Regions from separate parts of the Homo sapiens genome. Here region 2 is linked to region 1. Evidence: promoter capture Hi-C in human tissues and cell types (Jung and others, 2019). All regions are on one chromosome and are shown on one strand. The core of a region is centred on a gene start or on the middle of the fragment in contact, and the rest is flanking DNA. Distances in the headings are between cores, read along the strand shown.

The links. Contacts are between HindIII fragments. The study calls those that stand out against the background at their distance.
Region 2: a fragment that was not itself captured here is called in contact with the fragment with the promoter of ZBTB47 in region 1 in 2 of the 25 tissues and cell types used here (H1 embryonic stem cells and neural progenitor cells).

What each region holds. Positions count from the first base shown.
Region 1 is chr3:42,650,917-42,658,359 of GRCh38, reverse strand. ZBTB47 (zinc finger and BTB domain containing 47) reads right to left here and starts at 4,663. Exons shown (of 6, transcript NM_145166.4): 1 at 4,477-4,663; 2 at 1-85. The coding sequence starts at 4. ZBTB47-AS1 (ZBTB47 and NKTR antisense RNA 1) reads left to right here and starts at 3,972. Exons shown (of 3, transcript NR_125400.1): 1 at 3,972-4,366. RefSeq lists enhancers at 1,689-1,983, 4,048-4,689 and silencers at 3,563-3,642, 3,683-4,042. The HindIII fragment of the contact is 7,927 bases long and covers 1-7,002 here.
Region 2 is chr3:42,610,629-42,618,071 of GRCh38, reverse strand. NKTR (natural killer cell triggering receptor) reads right to left here. Exons shown (of 17, transcript NM_005385.4): 3 at 428-502. It overlaps ZBTB47-AS1 (ZBTB47 and NKTR antisense RNA 1), which reads left to right. Exons shown (of 3, transcript NR_125400.1): 3 at 5,705-5,762. Among named protein-coding and RNA genes, the nearest start is that of NKTR, 14 kb to the right of the region's middle. The HindIII fragment of the contact is 7,266 bases long and covers 1-7,040 here.

The sequences.
Region 1 (7,443 bases), core at 3,414-5,913:
CCATCAAGCAGGCAAAGTGCAGCGCCACGTCCTCCACCAGCGAGAACTCAGCCGCCGGGGAGTCAGTTGTCTTCTCAACCAGCAACTGCGGGGACAGAGGGCACAGGAGTGGGTCAAGGCCAGTGGGCCCCTGCCCGCCCTTCCCCCAGCACCACTCCCAGCATTGCCAGCCATCCAGGAGGCAGCCCATCACTCGTGGCTCCACTTTACAGCAACAGAGCCGAAACTAGCAAGGAAGGGATTCAAGCCTGAGTGAGCTGCCTCAGAGCTCAGGCTCCACTCGTGACCCTCTGAGGCTGAAGATCAGGTCCTGTCACTTTCTGGGCCTCTGGGTCATCTCCTGGGAAATGGGAAAAGTCATCCCAGGAAGGGAAAGGGAAGGAAAGGGGATGAAAGAGAGACCACAGTGACCAACCATCCAGGTTTGCCAGGGACCTGGGCATTTTCTGGGGTGCAGGGCTTTCAGTGCTAGAACCAGGACCATCGCAGGCACACCGGGACCAGGTGGTCACCCCAGGAGGGCCACAGGCATTCCTTCAGCATTTCCTCAGCCCCGTGGATTCTCTCCACATATTCACTCACACATACCAATAAAAGCAAGCTTGCCCAGCCCCAAACACCTCAAGAACAGAAGCCGGGCTCACTGCTCACTGCCCAGTCTCTGGCTACAGAATCCAAGGGGTAGCACCTGAGGGAACCCCTCATCGCAACAGCCATGTGGCTGCTGCAGAAGTTGAAACCTGTGAAGAAATCCAGGCTCAGGGCCTATACCTTCTCCCCACTCTGGTCCTGCTGCACTGCCTGGTGAGGTCTCCTCATCACAGCCAGGGCTTGGGCCAGGCTGCCCCCAACCCCTGCCTGCAGCCTCAGGCCTAGCCCCCAGCAGCTCTCTCTCACTCAGGGGCTCTGCAGGGGTGGAAGGACACAGCTGTGGAACCTGCCTACCATGCTTGCAGGCAGGAGGCCCCCAAGGCCTGCCCCAGATCCTTTTCCCGGTAGACCCCCAGACCCCAGGTCAGGTACGGTCCATGTCCACAGGCTCTGGGAAAGCCCTGCCTTAGAGGCCACACCATCTGGGGCTTCCAGAGCCCTAGCGGAGGCCCTCAATGTCTGATGGGTCAGACTATCAGGCCTGTGGGCCACATCCAGCACCTGTGAATTGCCTGGAATAGAAGCCAACTCAGTCACCCCGGCTCTACCACAGCAGCCTCCCCAAAAGGTGGGCAGCACAGACAGGCAGCCTGCCCAGTCCCTGCACGAGAACCATCACACAGTGATGTGCAGATGTTGTTAATATCCACCAACCACCAGCCCAGCTGGACCAGCACCACTGGTTCCAAGTTCTGGCTCTCCTCAGGGCCTGCCCAACCAGGTCTGAGCCTCCTGCATTCGGGAGGTACCTTGCCACAATATTTTGATGGCCACAAAACCATCAGCTCCATAGCTGTCAGTGCCTCCCTGGGGACCCTGGGATGAATCCTGGCCCCATCCATCCACAGCCTACCGCCCCCCTTCCCCATGCCAGGCCTTCCATCGCCAGGAGAGCAGTGGGTAGGCTGGGATTGGGCAGGGGTGGTGGTGGTTGAGCTCCACTTCTCAGTCACCTGAATGAGAAACCTACCGTGGGCCTCAGCAGGAGCCTCCCTGAGCCACCAGGGGCCACCTGTCTCCAGGCCTGCCCTGGACCCTGCCCCCTACACCCAGCAGCCAGGGCAGCAGCCATCCTGTGTTCCCTCACATCCCAGTCTGGCCAGGCCCCTGGCCAAGGCTACCATCTTCCTTGAGTTCTCCACTACACCCCTTACCCCAGCCAAGAAGCCATCCATCTCCCTCTGTCCCAGGCTGTCCAGGCCTGGCCAATCTAACTGGGACGTGGCACCAAGCCCCTCCCATCTCCCTCCTCTGACTCATTCTGATTCATCTTCTGGGACCAACCCCTACTACACAGATGGAGAAACCGAGGCTCAGAATGAGAGGGTTCCACAGTCCAGAGCCCCTGGACTCCCAGCTCCGCTAAGACCACCCCTTCCTTGCTAGACCCCACATGGCTGGATTTCTGAGCCTTTAATGACTTAAAAAGCGAGAACATCCCGCCACCTGGAGACCAGCCGTGCTTCCCCACACTCACCACTATCCCCTCTACCTGCTCCCTCCTCCCTAGAGCCACTGCACCTGCAGGTCAGTGAAGGATCAGGGTACAACTTGGGTTGCAACAGGGGCTCCTTAGGGCCTCCAGGGGCCAAAGACTGGCAGGAGAAGTGGCTTGGATAAGGGTTTGCTGAAGCCAGGCCTGTTGGGGGAAGTCCACCCCAGGCAACAGAGCCCCAGATCTCTCTGCTCTCCCTTTATGGAATGCCCTCCACTGCCCACCTGTGCCCACCTGCCACAGGGAAAGGGCAACCTTCCCATGTGCACTTTGGCCTCTAGGCCAAATGAGGCCTGACTTTGGCCCTCTGGCCTCTCAGCAGGAAAGGAGGGGAGTGCTTTCTCAAACACTCCATTGCTAAGGTAGTACTCTCAGCCAAGGCAGCACCATCCTTGGCCCTTGGGGGGCCCTAAACCTCATGACCTGATTGGACTCTCTTGACTGGGCACAGAGATGCTGCCCGAGTCCACAATTGGCAGCCCCTCAGCAGGGTTCAGCCACCCCCATGTCTGGCCCCTCCCACACAATGCCCACCAGCTGTGCTGGCCTCCACAGCCAGATGTGCTGGTTCCCGGAAGCAATGCGTGCCCCTCCCCATCCGGCTGTGCCAGCTGCAGTCCAGGTCACTCCAGCCTAGCTAAGATGCAGGACCAGGGAGGTGGTCAGGCACTCTGGTTGCCAGGGGGTTTCATGCCCTCAAACCCTTGCCCCAAGTCAGGCTGGGGATTGGCCAGGTGCCAGACATCTCTCCAGGCTGCTCACCCAAGTCAGAGCCTTCTACACCTGAGGGGTACCTTGCCTCACTGATGAGAAGCCTCATCTCTCTACCCTGCCTCAGAGCCTCCCTGGAAGGCCCCATGATGAAACCTGGGGAGTCCATCTGCGCCCCCCTCCCATGTCAATTCTTTCTATGCTGGGCAGCAGTGGGGGGGCCCAGACTGAGCAAGGGGGCACAGGCTCATGACCTCTAGGCTCCTCCTTTTGGTGAGGGAGTGTCCATGCCAGCCTCCTCTGTGCACTTACCTCCCCTCTTTCCCTTGGAAATAGACCCAGAGAGGGCGGGGGATCTGCCCAAGGTCACACAGGAGTTGGTACGGGAGCTCTGGGTGTCCTCCCACACCCCCTTGGCCCGGGTCATCCCGAATCCCCAGGCAGGGCGGCTCCAGCGCCCACGTGGCCCAAGGCCCAGGCGGGAATCCGACTCCCTCTTCCCCCCATTACCCAGCCCGAGGGCGGCGCCGTCCGGGCGCAGGGGAGCGCCCCCCTTCGCCGGTGCCTAGCAAGACCTCAGCCTCGCGCGCCGGCGCCCCCACCACAGGAATTTAACCCCCTCCCCACCGAGAGCAGCGCCACAGCGCCGCATTCCCGGCCCGCGGGACCCAGCAGATGGAGCCGGGAGACCGGGGGAGGGGGGAAGATCCCTCCAGCCCCTCCACCCGGGCCCGCGGGCCGTGTGCCTGGGAGGTCAGAGCTGGCAGGTGGGCGGATAAGCGGGGGGACAGGCAGGGCCCTGCGTACCATGGTGCCGTGGCGCTGGGGGCTCACAGGGCCCCGCGGGATCGCGCTGCCCCCGGCGGCCAGGCCAGGGCCGCTCCATGAAGCGCCGCGCTGGGGGCCGCCCCCGCGCAGGGCCCCGCGACCATGGCCCCCGGGGGCGCGGCCAGGCAGGCGGAGGCGCAGGGCCGCGGCGAGTCCAGCGCCAAGCAGCTGCGGCCCCAGAGCCTCGGGCGCGGCGGGCGGGGGGCGCGGGGCGCCGATTGGAGCCCGCGCGTCAGCTGGGGCCGCCGTCTGGACGCTTAAAGGGCCAGGCCGCCTGCGTGCCGGCGGGGGGCGCGGACACGCGTGGTGTGCGCGGTCCCCGTGCAGCCCGCCCTGCCGCAGGCTGCCCTCCACCCCCAGCCCCAGCTCCAGCCCCCAGCCCGTCCCCACTGCTCATATCCGAGCAGATAGACCCCGGCCCCACCCTCCCGTGCTGAGCCTCCTTTCTGCCGGGAAGTTCGTCCGGGAGTCAAACATCGCTGCCCTCCGGTTGCGCCACGGAGGGGGAGCCAGGATAGGAAGCTGCCGTGAAATCAGGAAGCTGAGCGCGCCGGGCCCCGGATCCGAACAGAAAAGGCTTCCACCCGCTCCCCTGAGGGATCCCACGCTGAGGGACTGAACCCCGCACCCCAGCCGCGCTCACCACCCCCACCCTCTCGCCTGGGCTGCTCTGACCTGGGGGTGAGTCTGGGGTCCCCAACTGGTCCAGTCCCCCATCCCTATCCCAGGGCGGCGCAGGGCTCATTTTGCTCTGTGCCTCCAGGACTTGGCTCCAGTGGACCCATACCTACCTGGCGGCCTCATGCTGCATAGGGCCACCCAGGGCAGGAGATTTAAATCCCAGGACTACAACCGCAGCGATCAAATCATCTAAGGTGACTGGCCCAGGGCCAGGAGACAGAGGGACCAGAGGAGTAGGGACCAGAGGCCCAGGCCCCACTGTGCCCCTCTAGCCGTGTGACCTGACCACTGCTGAGTGGCCCCCTTGCTCAGCCTCTGCTGGGGAGATGCAGCCAGGCTTGCGGAATGCTGCTCTGGCATGGACACCCGTGGGGGCAGGGGGCTGGCTCTGTTGGCAGGAGGCTGTAAAGGAAGGCTGCCAGGCTGAGCAGGCAGCAGGGTGGGGACCACGGGGCACTAGACCTGGCAAGGTCTGGATGGTGACTGGGCCACCATTGTAGAGGAGAGGCCTCTGTGGACATCCCCTCCTCCTACCCCAAGCTCACTACTGCCCATCCTGGGTCACTCTCATGTTGCCCCCATCCTGATATTCCACACCCCTCCCCACATATGTGCGCTTGTGTTTACATACAAGTCCATGTCCAGCTGCAGCAGTATCTCCTGGGTATGTTGTCCTACTCACGAGTGGGCAGGAACTCTGGCGCTGGCTCAGGGTGACTTGGTTCTAGGTGCCAGAGGAGAAATGGAGGAGAGACCAGGGTATTAGGCAGGTGCTGTGAAACAGCCTGATGGTCTGTCCTGTAAGATTGCAAGGGCCTCCTCCCCCACCCCCACTCTCTGCCAGAATACGTAGGGCCTCAGGATAAGGCTATCCCAGAGCTAGGGAGAAAATGTCTCAGGGGCCAAACCTGGGGCATCTGGAAGCCCCTGGCAGCTGCTGCAGACATCCTGTACCTGCATGGGTGCACAGACAGCTGGCCCAGCTCCCAGAGGCCCCAGGTTAAGGCCAGGCCAGAGCAGCTTACATGCTTCTGACCAGCTAGCCCGCTGAGGGCTGCCTTCTGCCTCTTCCTCCCCAGCCCACTTCCTCATCTGACTCACAGTGGATCCTAGCACCGGCCCAGGAGTTAGTTAGGGAGGGGCTGTGTGCCCATTGGTTGGATAAGGACTCTGAGGCTCAGAGCGGGACAAATCACTTAGGCATCAGCATCAGGAGCCAGGGGAAGGGGAGGTGGGGAGAAGGGACCCCTCCACGGGCTGGAAGAAGCCTGGCAGAGAGAGCTGCATGGGACATTGCTAGGCCCACTGCCAAGCCAAAGCTTGACAGAGGGTGTGGCCAGCGTGACTGAGGTAGTGATGCTGGCCCTATGGGGCCTTGCTGGGGCCTTAGCTCCAGCAGTCAAGCTGCAGAAAGGGCTGGAGGTTGGGTGAGAAGGGAGGGGACAGGTGGTGGGGAGGCACTCAGTCTCCCTGAAGGCCTCGGCTGTTCCCCTCTTGCTTCTCTGGCCTGCAGCTCATCAGCTGGGGAGTCCCAGGGCAGAGCCTGAGCTCTGTGAGCAGCTGTGGGCACCTGGCAACACTGGACCTGGCAGGAAGGAGTGGTTTGAAGAGCTGTCTGGTGGGCCCACAGGGCTGCTCAGAGCTGAGGCTTGAACTTGAACATTAACTAGAGCAATGAGGGAGTGAAAGGGCTTTCCAGACAGAAAGCCTGCAAAGGCCAGGAGGTGGAGACAATTTAGCATCTGCAGGGAACTAGAGGGGATTTGGTGTAGTGGAGTCAAGATTCCTATCGATCAGGAGTTGTCTGGTTGGTGGGAGTGAACAGGTGGAGCTAGGCAGAGGCAGAATTTCTCTCTTGGTCCTGATGAGGGGCATGCAGTAGGAGCTTCACTTCAGGGAGGTCAAGGCAGGCTTTCTGGAGGGAGGGACTGAGTTATTGGGGAGTTGACTCCTGGGCCAGAAATGCATGCCCCAGGGGTGAGTCAGGAGTCTGGAGACGCTCACCCAGCAAGGGCAGAGCTTAGTGATCCTTCACATATTTGGGATTGGGTCCTGACAAGGTCAGCAAAGCTATGCCCCTGCCTCTAGAAGACAGCTCATGGGTTTTCTCTCAATTTCCCTAAGTATCTACCCTCAGTGCTGGAGTGTCCCCAGGCTTAGTTGGGGAAACCAGATTCAACCCCACTGAAGTTAGAAAGAACAGCCCAGGTTGTGGGTATGCGTATGTGTGTGGGAACAATGCAGGACTGAGTCAGCCCGGAGGGCATGGAGCTGTGTGTAGCTGAGCCTGGGGAAGAGGGAGAGCAGAGTGGGCAATGCCAGAAAAATACAGGCAATGCAACTCAACTCGCACAGCATGTGGCCAGTGGGCTGGCAGGGAAGTTCAAAGCTACCCACTAGGCGCTGATCCGAAGCCCAAAGTTCTAGTAGGGCGGGAAAACATGAATCCCCAGGGTGTGGGGTGGGTTAAGGGTGGAGTTTACACCTGAATTCTGCCTCCACTGAACCCAGCACTAATAGGCTACAGCTGCCCTGGGTTGGGGGCCTCATGCAAACCGGTAGGTTGCCTGGTTCCCTCACAGCATAAACATCATGGCTTTGGCATTTCACGTCTCTCTTGCAGCTTCTAGGATCCTCTCCTGCCCTGTTGGTTCTGGGGGCCTTGGGCCTCTCCCTAGTGAGTGAACCTGGCTCCACACATGAACCCTCTGGGACTCCTTCACTTCTCCTAGAGTCACCACCTCAGGGGCCACCACCTCTGAACCACTGATGTATGCTTGGTTTTCTAAACGTTTAATACACCACAGTTCTAGGAGGAGGAATCCCTAGCATCCATTTTTCAGATGAGCTGAATTATAGAGGTCAAGCAAATTGTCCTCCTTCCAGTTACCCAACTGGGAAGTGGCAGAGTTGAACTTGAACCCAAGCAGCCTGGTTCTGGCCCAGAGACCTTAACGATTGTACCATAGCATAGTTGCTCATAGAAGTCCCCCTGCTTCTTCAAAATAAAACCAAATTAGGCTGGAGGCATTGAGGTCAGTGGGGACTCTTCTTAGGCTTTCTCTGGGAACCTGGCC
Region 2 (7,443 bases), core at 2,158-4,657, 39 kb after region 1:
GCCAGTTTGTTCTAATTTTAAAGTAACATTATAGATGTTTCCCTCCCCATTTTTTCTATTTATTTAAAATTTATTGTAAAATTTGGAATACTAAATTTTTTCAAAGTAGTGAAATTCATAAAATTCTACCAAATCAGTTTTGAATGTGTGCTATTATTTTATAAATTAAAATGTATAGAGAAGATTCCATTATATAACGTAGATTCTTACTCTCTTTTTCATTTTTGAGATCATTCCTTTCTAATCTCTTCCCCTTAAGAAATGCTTCCCTGATTTCATATAAAAGTCAGTATAAGTAACTCTTTTTTTTTTTTAATTCACAAAACTAATTTCACGAGTCCATTATTCTTCCAGGAAAATATCTATTCTGTTCAGCAAGGTAAAACTGTAAGCCACAGCTTCTCATTGGAAATAATAATTCACTTACCTGAGCACAAGCAAAGGAAGTTTTTGCATGTTTTTGGACATATGTCTGAGAAGAGCTGAAACATAATGCGACCAACTGAAATAAAATACATAGGAAAAAAATAGTAAGCAAGTTAAATATATCACATTTAAATGGGAGAAAGAAACAGGGCTAACAAATTAGAAAGTCTATTTTTGTAATTCATTTTAATTTTTTAAAAGATGTAATGGGAAAGCATTTAACTGGGTGATACCTATGAACAAGAACACCATTTTATTTGTTATTGTTAAAATTTACATGCAGCCAAATTGGTTCCAGCCCCAAAATTATAGGATTTTAAGTGTGTTTTAAAGGAACTTTGTATTATTAGATTCCTCGTAGTATAGTTCCCTATCTGAACTATAAATCTTCTTTAAAAATACTCTCAATAGTTGTTTGATTTATGCTTGGGCCCTTCCAGTGATGAGAGTACATCAAAAGACAGTAATTCTGGCCAGTATTGTTAAGAAACATCTCTGTCTCTTTATTTTCAGCTTTCTTCCTTTAAGCAAGAACTGTTAAGAGCCACCTTCCTGAATTGCACCAATCACACTTAAAATTCACATTTTAAGCTGGGCATGGTGGCTCACACCTATAATCCCAGCACTTTGGGAGGCTGAGGCAGGGAGGGTTGCCTGAGGTCAGGAGTTTGAGACCAGCCTGGGCAACACAGAACGACCCCTGTCTCTACAAAAAATTTTAAAAATTAGCGGGGGATGGTGGCACATGCCTGTAGTTATTGGGGAGGCTGACGTAGGAGGTTCACTTGAGCCCAGGATTTCAAGGCTGCAATGAGCTATGATCATGCAGTGAGCTTTGATTGTGCCACTGCACTCTAGCCTAGGTGACAGAGCAAGACTCTTAAAATAATACTCCCCATCCTATCCCCTGAGAGAGCAGAAAGAGAAGAGGTTATGCTTCCCTACAACAAACACGAGATTACAAGGAAAAGTCAGCAACTTCAATTTAACTATGCCAGAGAAAAATGGTTCTCAAACTCTGGTCTCAGGGCTCTTTTAAACTCATTACTGAGCTTTTGTTTATGTAGTTCATATCTATTGCTATATACCATATTAAATGTTAAAACTCAGAAATGTTTAAAACACAAGAATACACAAGCACACATTCCATTAGGTGTCAGGGCAGTGATATCATCACATATTAATATATGATCTCTGGAAAACCTGACTGTATATTCACAAGAGAATGAGAGCACAAAAGGCAAATCATAATCTATTACTATAAAAATAATTGTGACTTTATGGACCTGTTGAAAGCGTATCAATAAAATAAGAAACGTAATTCTGATTTGCAATTAATTACTCTTCAGTTCCTTTCCCCTTTATTCTACAAGATCTTTTCCATTGTAAACCTTTTTATTTATTCAAAAGGACTTACAGAATAAATAAAAATTAACTGTGGACCAAGCATAAATCATGTTCAGAACAGACACAAAATGACTCTGTATCACTAAGACTGTATTGTATTCCTGGCCATATCGGTCAGTTCCTGTGAGGAGGAAACAATGATACTGCATTATAGACATCGTTAATGGGTAAAGCAGGATGGAAGACCTTCCTGTGTCAACATTCTTAGCCTATAGCTTTAAAAGAGCCAAACTATAAAGCAATTTCAAAACTTTGTAGCTGTTCTTAAAACCTAAGGGAATGAAGAAAAAGACGGAAAGCAAGCAAAAAGGAGGACTCAAGATTTTCAAGCAGGGAGCAGTGTATCTAAAGTCATTTCAGAATTAAAAAAAAACCCTATAATATCAGTAATAGTAACTATCACTGTATTTATATAGAAACATTTTACCAGTATAATAAATGTATTTTGATCAGTCCTCATAAATCTCTGGGAAATGGCTTAGCTGGTGTCAAGTTCAAAATCATCCCGCTTTGCATACCAGAACAGACTTAGATCTTTGCAATCCCTGTAAGATGGCTACTTTTCAGGATAGAAGACATAATCGAAATAATCAAAACATAGGGCTTTTCTTAGGGCCACAGTAACTTCAACATTAGGGTGTTTTTTGTTTTGTTTTTTTCAAAATCTTGTAATGCCTCAAAATGAAAGCTGTTCAAAGTTTCAAATGTTTTTAGTTTCTCCTTAACAGATAATTGGAAATTGTGTACCCTCCAGTAGTACAACACACACTTGAAAACAGTTAAAATGTGATTACATTCCTATCCAATATTCGGAGAGGGATAGCTAACTAGAGTGGTTTAAAAAAAAAAAAAAAAATCTCGGCCAGGCATGGTGGCTCACGCCTGTAATCCCAGCACTTTGGGAGGCCAAGGCAGGCAGATCACCTGAGGTCAGGAGTTCAAGATCAGCCTGGCCAACATGATGAAACCCCATCTCTACTAAAAATACAAAAATTAGCCAGGTGTGGTGGCAGGCGCCTGTAATCCTAGCTACTCGGGAGGCTGAGGCAAAAGAATCGCTTGAACCTGGGAGGTGGAGGTTGCAGTGAGCTGAGGTTGCATCACTGCACTCCAGCCTGCGCGACACAGTAAGATTCCATCTTAAAAAAAAAAAAAAGAAAAAACAAATCTCACCTCTAATATCTTACCCTCTTCTAGCCTGGAGCAAAAAAAAAAGTCTTTTGCCCTCCGAACCTCATGGCACAAAGGATAGAGTAGAGGTTTTATCTCCTCTATGGCATTATGTTGTTAAGAGCAAGAGGAAAAATACAACAAAACTGAATTGTTTTTGCCTCAATAACAAGGTGCAAGATTAAACCTGGCACATAAGAAAAATAATTTTAAAATCCTGAAAAAAACACATTAACCTAATTAGGTTTGCAAAGCATGGCAAAGGCTGAACTATGGATATTCAGACATTAGTTGAGACTTTCTTAAGTTAAAATGCTAGTATATATGCAATTTGAAGGGTTTAAAAACAAAAACCAAGGTCAAAAAAACAAAACAGCATTATGATTTATACCTATAAAGAGGTAACCTAGTATTAATTCCCTTCAAATTAAATCCTGAGATTGAACACTACAGGATACAGATCAGCAAATACTAACTTGAACTGAAGCTCATTAGCAAGATTAACAGGTTTTCAACAAATATTTTTTATTGAATTGTATGATTTTATAGAAAACAGGCTACCATGTGATGATACTTCTATTCTGAAACTCAAAATAGACAATATTCTAAAGGTATGGTCTTTAAAAAAAAAAAAAAGTCAATGTGGTTCACTAGTTTAGTTAGTAAATATTTTCGGTGATGGCAAGCATAAACTATGATTACAAAACATATTGAAGATAAAAAAATTAAGCTGTAGTTACAATAAAGGACAGACTTGGAATGAATTTGCGTAAGTCTCTCTGGCTCCCAAACTGATGAGAAAAATAAGTGTGACAGTAACCCCATCTCTGTAAAGAGTTAAGAACACCTGCTGATGATGCCTCTTTGGAAACTGCTGCTGACTAAATAAATAATATCTAAGAAAAATTTGTTACTCAACAAATACTATTTATAATTTAGTGGAATTTAGTAATCTTTTAGAATCAGTTGATACCGGCTGGGCACTGTAATACCAGTGCTTTGGGAGGCAGAGGCTGGAGGATCACTTGAAACCAGGAGTTCAAGAATCAGTCAATACTATTGATAATATTCTTATACATAGTTTTCGTCCACAGAATTAATGTTATGCCAATAGATACACAGCTCTATAATAAGACTAAAATCTACTGTTAGTGTAAACATTAGTATGTTGCTTTTATACATGGCTAAGGACAAAAATGACACAAAGCAGGACTAGTTTCTAAATTTAATCCGAAAATACCAACATGCAGATCCTTAAAAATAAGACAGGGGAACAATATTAAGATTAATCAGGTAATATCAACACATGTTAAGCTTTGACTACAGACAGGAAAAGTCTATGTCATGGTGTAGATTCTGATTTGGCCACTAGGTGAAAGGAATAAAATCACCAAGTACACAGATGGAATAAAATCAAACATCATCTTTCAATACTGTTCCTTGTTTTCAGAAATAGTTGCGCTGGAATTGCAGATTCAATGGTTTAAAAAGGAGACATGTATTATGTACATAGATGATATGGTAGTTGGAAAAGTGAGCATCAATTAGAAAAATGTTGCAGAGGTTGATAAACTACAGAAGGCAAAGAATAGCCCATAGAACAATTAATTACAAGCAAGGGGTGAGGAAAAGAGCAAAGGTTAAGAACAGATCACACTAGGTAGGCCAAGAGCAAAATCTAGGAAGAAGATTAAGAAACAGGAGCAGCATAACATCGGGCCATTTACTCAAATATTATTTACTGAGATCTTACCCATATGTCAGGGAATCCAACAGTACTATATACTGTTGTGCCTGAGTTTCAAGAAGAACGTAGTGCCTAAGTTTCAAGAAGCTCACATCTTGGCTAGGAATGACACATGGAAATGCAGCTGCTACACAATATGAGCTATCATTAGTATGAACTAAGGGCACTTATATATAACCTAGGTCTGACTGTTGTGTGTGACCGCAGAGAGATAGGGACCATGACTGCTTTACTTACCACTATATCCCCAGAGACTTACGTAGTGCCTGGTACAGTTAGGTGCTCAATAAATATTTAATAATAATAATACTCAAAACAAAATTATTCAAAGACAGATTTACAAAATACTTTCATAAATGAAGGAACACCCAAATATACAGATTAAAATTATTCACTACATACCAGGAAAAAATATGTAAGTGGAGCAACACCAAGATATCAATTAATAAAGCTATTTAGTTTTGGAGACATAAATGGAAAAAAAAGCCTCCTAGTATCCAGGCAGTAGAATCATATCGTTCACAAAGAAAAAAGAAAGAAGACCAGCTTCAGACACCTTATATTACAAACTGGAGACAACTGAGCACAGTCTACCATTTTTAAGGAATAGGCTGTGAAACAAGAATTCTATACCTAGCAAAGGAAATACATTTTATCCTGAAATATCTATTTGAATACATATCCCTGAGATATAAGTCAAAAAATTAATGAATGAGAACTAGTAGGAAGAGTGGCATTGGGCACTGAATATATTACATTACAAAATTAAACCTAAATCACTATAATTATGGTTTTAAAATAAAAGGAAATGAGGCCGGATGTTAGAGCTGCCAGGTATGACAATGCAAACAGTGTTAATTATGGTTTTAAATGTTATCAGTATTAGGAAACAAAGTTATGTAATGGCAAAATTTTTTTTATGTACCATCTGAAAATGTTCTTTCTTTTGAATAGGAAATGTTCTCATGACTCAAAAATCAGTGGAAAAAGGTACAGGATGAGAAGCCTTGTTTCCCAACCCTATCAACAGGTACTCACTTTCATTAATTTTCTGTGTATTTTTCCAGTTTCTTTTCATACACAAGCAAATATTGATAAATTCTTATTTTTCTTCCTTTAAAAAATGGTAGATTATGCACACTGTACTGCACCTTGCTCTACTAACATATCATGAACTTTTCTCATGCCTGTGATATAAAAATAATGTATTTTATTTTTTAAGAGACAGAGTCTCGCTCTGTTCCCCAGGTTGTAGTGCAACGGCACAACCTCTGCTCACTGCATCCTCAACCTCTTGGGCTCAAGCAATCCTCCTGCCTCAGCCTCCTGAATAGATGGGAACATAGGAGCATGCCACCATGCTTGGCTAATTTTTGTATTTTTTGTTGAGACAAGGTCTCACTATGTTGCCCAGGGTAAAAATAATTTCAGTTGGAGGAAGGCAGTGGAGAATCAATAAAAACCAACAAGGATTTGGACTGGTGAAAGAAAATACGCATCCTCATACTTCATAGTGGGAATCAATAGGTAGACTTTTCTGAAGCAGAGAGGAAATAAGGGTTTAGGCATACATTTTTTTTTTTTTTTTTGAGACAGAGTCTCACTCTGTCACCCAGGCTGGAGTGCAGTGGCACGATCTTGGCTCACTGCAATCTCCGCCTCCTGGGTTCAAGCAATTCTCCTGCCTCAGCCTCCCGAGTAGCTAGGATTATAGACACCTACCACTATGCCCAGCTAATTTTTTGTATTTTTAGTAGAGATGGGGTTTCACCATGTTGGCCAGGCTTGTCTTGAACTCCTAACCTTGTGATTTGCCCGCCTCGACCTCCCAGAGTGCTGGGATTACAGGCCACCATGCCCAGCCAAGGGTTTAAGCATACTTAAACAGGTATTCACAAGTAGAACTAACAATATTTTACATCTTTCAAGCTTCTTTGGTGGGAGGGGCAGCAACCTAGTAAAAGATATAAAACAAAGGAAATAGCCAGAAAAACATAAAATATAAGGCCGAAACAACTTAATTATTTAGCCACATGAAGCTTTTTCCATGACATGTCCATAAACACCCAGCTAAAGGTTTCCTGCAGATAGTACAAGCAAAAACTCAAAAGAGAACATATTTACTGGCTCATGTAGTTATGATGAGGATATTAGTGCAGATCAGAGAATCAAAGGGCCAGGATGTCAGGAAATGAGGTCAGATGTTAGAGCTGCCAGGTCTGACAATGCAAAAAGTGTTAAATACCACTTATTTATCCTGATCACTGCATATAGTCATAAATATTTTCATTAATGAATAAAACTAAAGATAAATTAATCACTTAGGAAGATAAAAGGAAGAATACCAAAATTTAGAAAAAAGAATTATAAGATAGTATACAGATAAAAAACAGGCCCAATAAAGAAACTAAAATGCTGCTAACTATCCAAAAGAGTGCTGCTATTAATTCTTTAGATATAGATGAATTACTTCTAATCTTCAAGTAACATTAAAGTGTAACACTATATCAACTGTTCTAGAGCACAGCAAAAGATGAAAAGCTTAATTTTTTTGAAACAAAATAAAATCGAAACCAAAGCCTGGGAGAGATGATATAAAACAAATTTAAAACCCCATATGCCAATCTCATTTTAAAAGAGACACTATTCAACATTAGGAAATCTACTAATATAGTTTATTGAAGTGAAGGAAA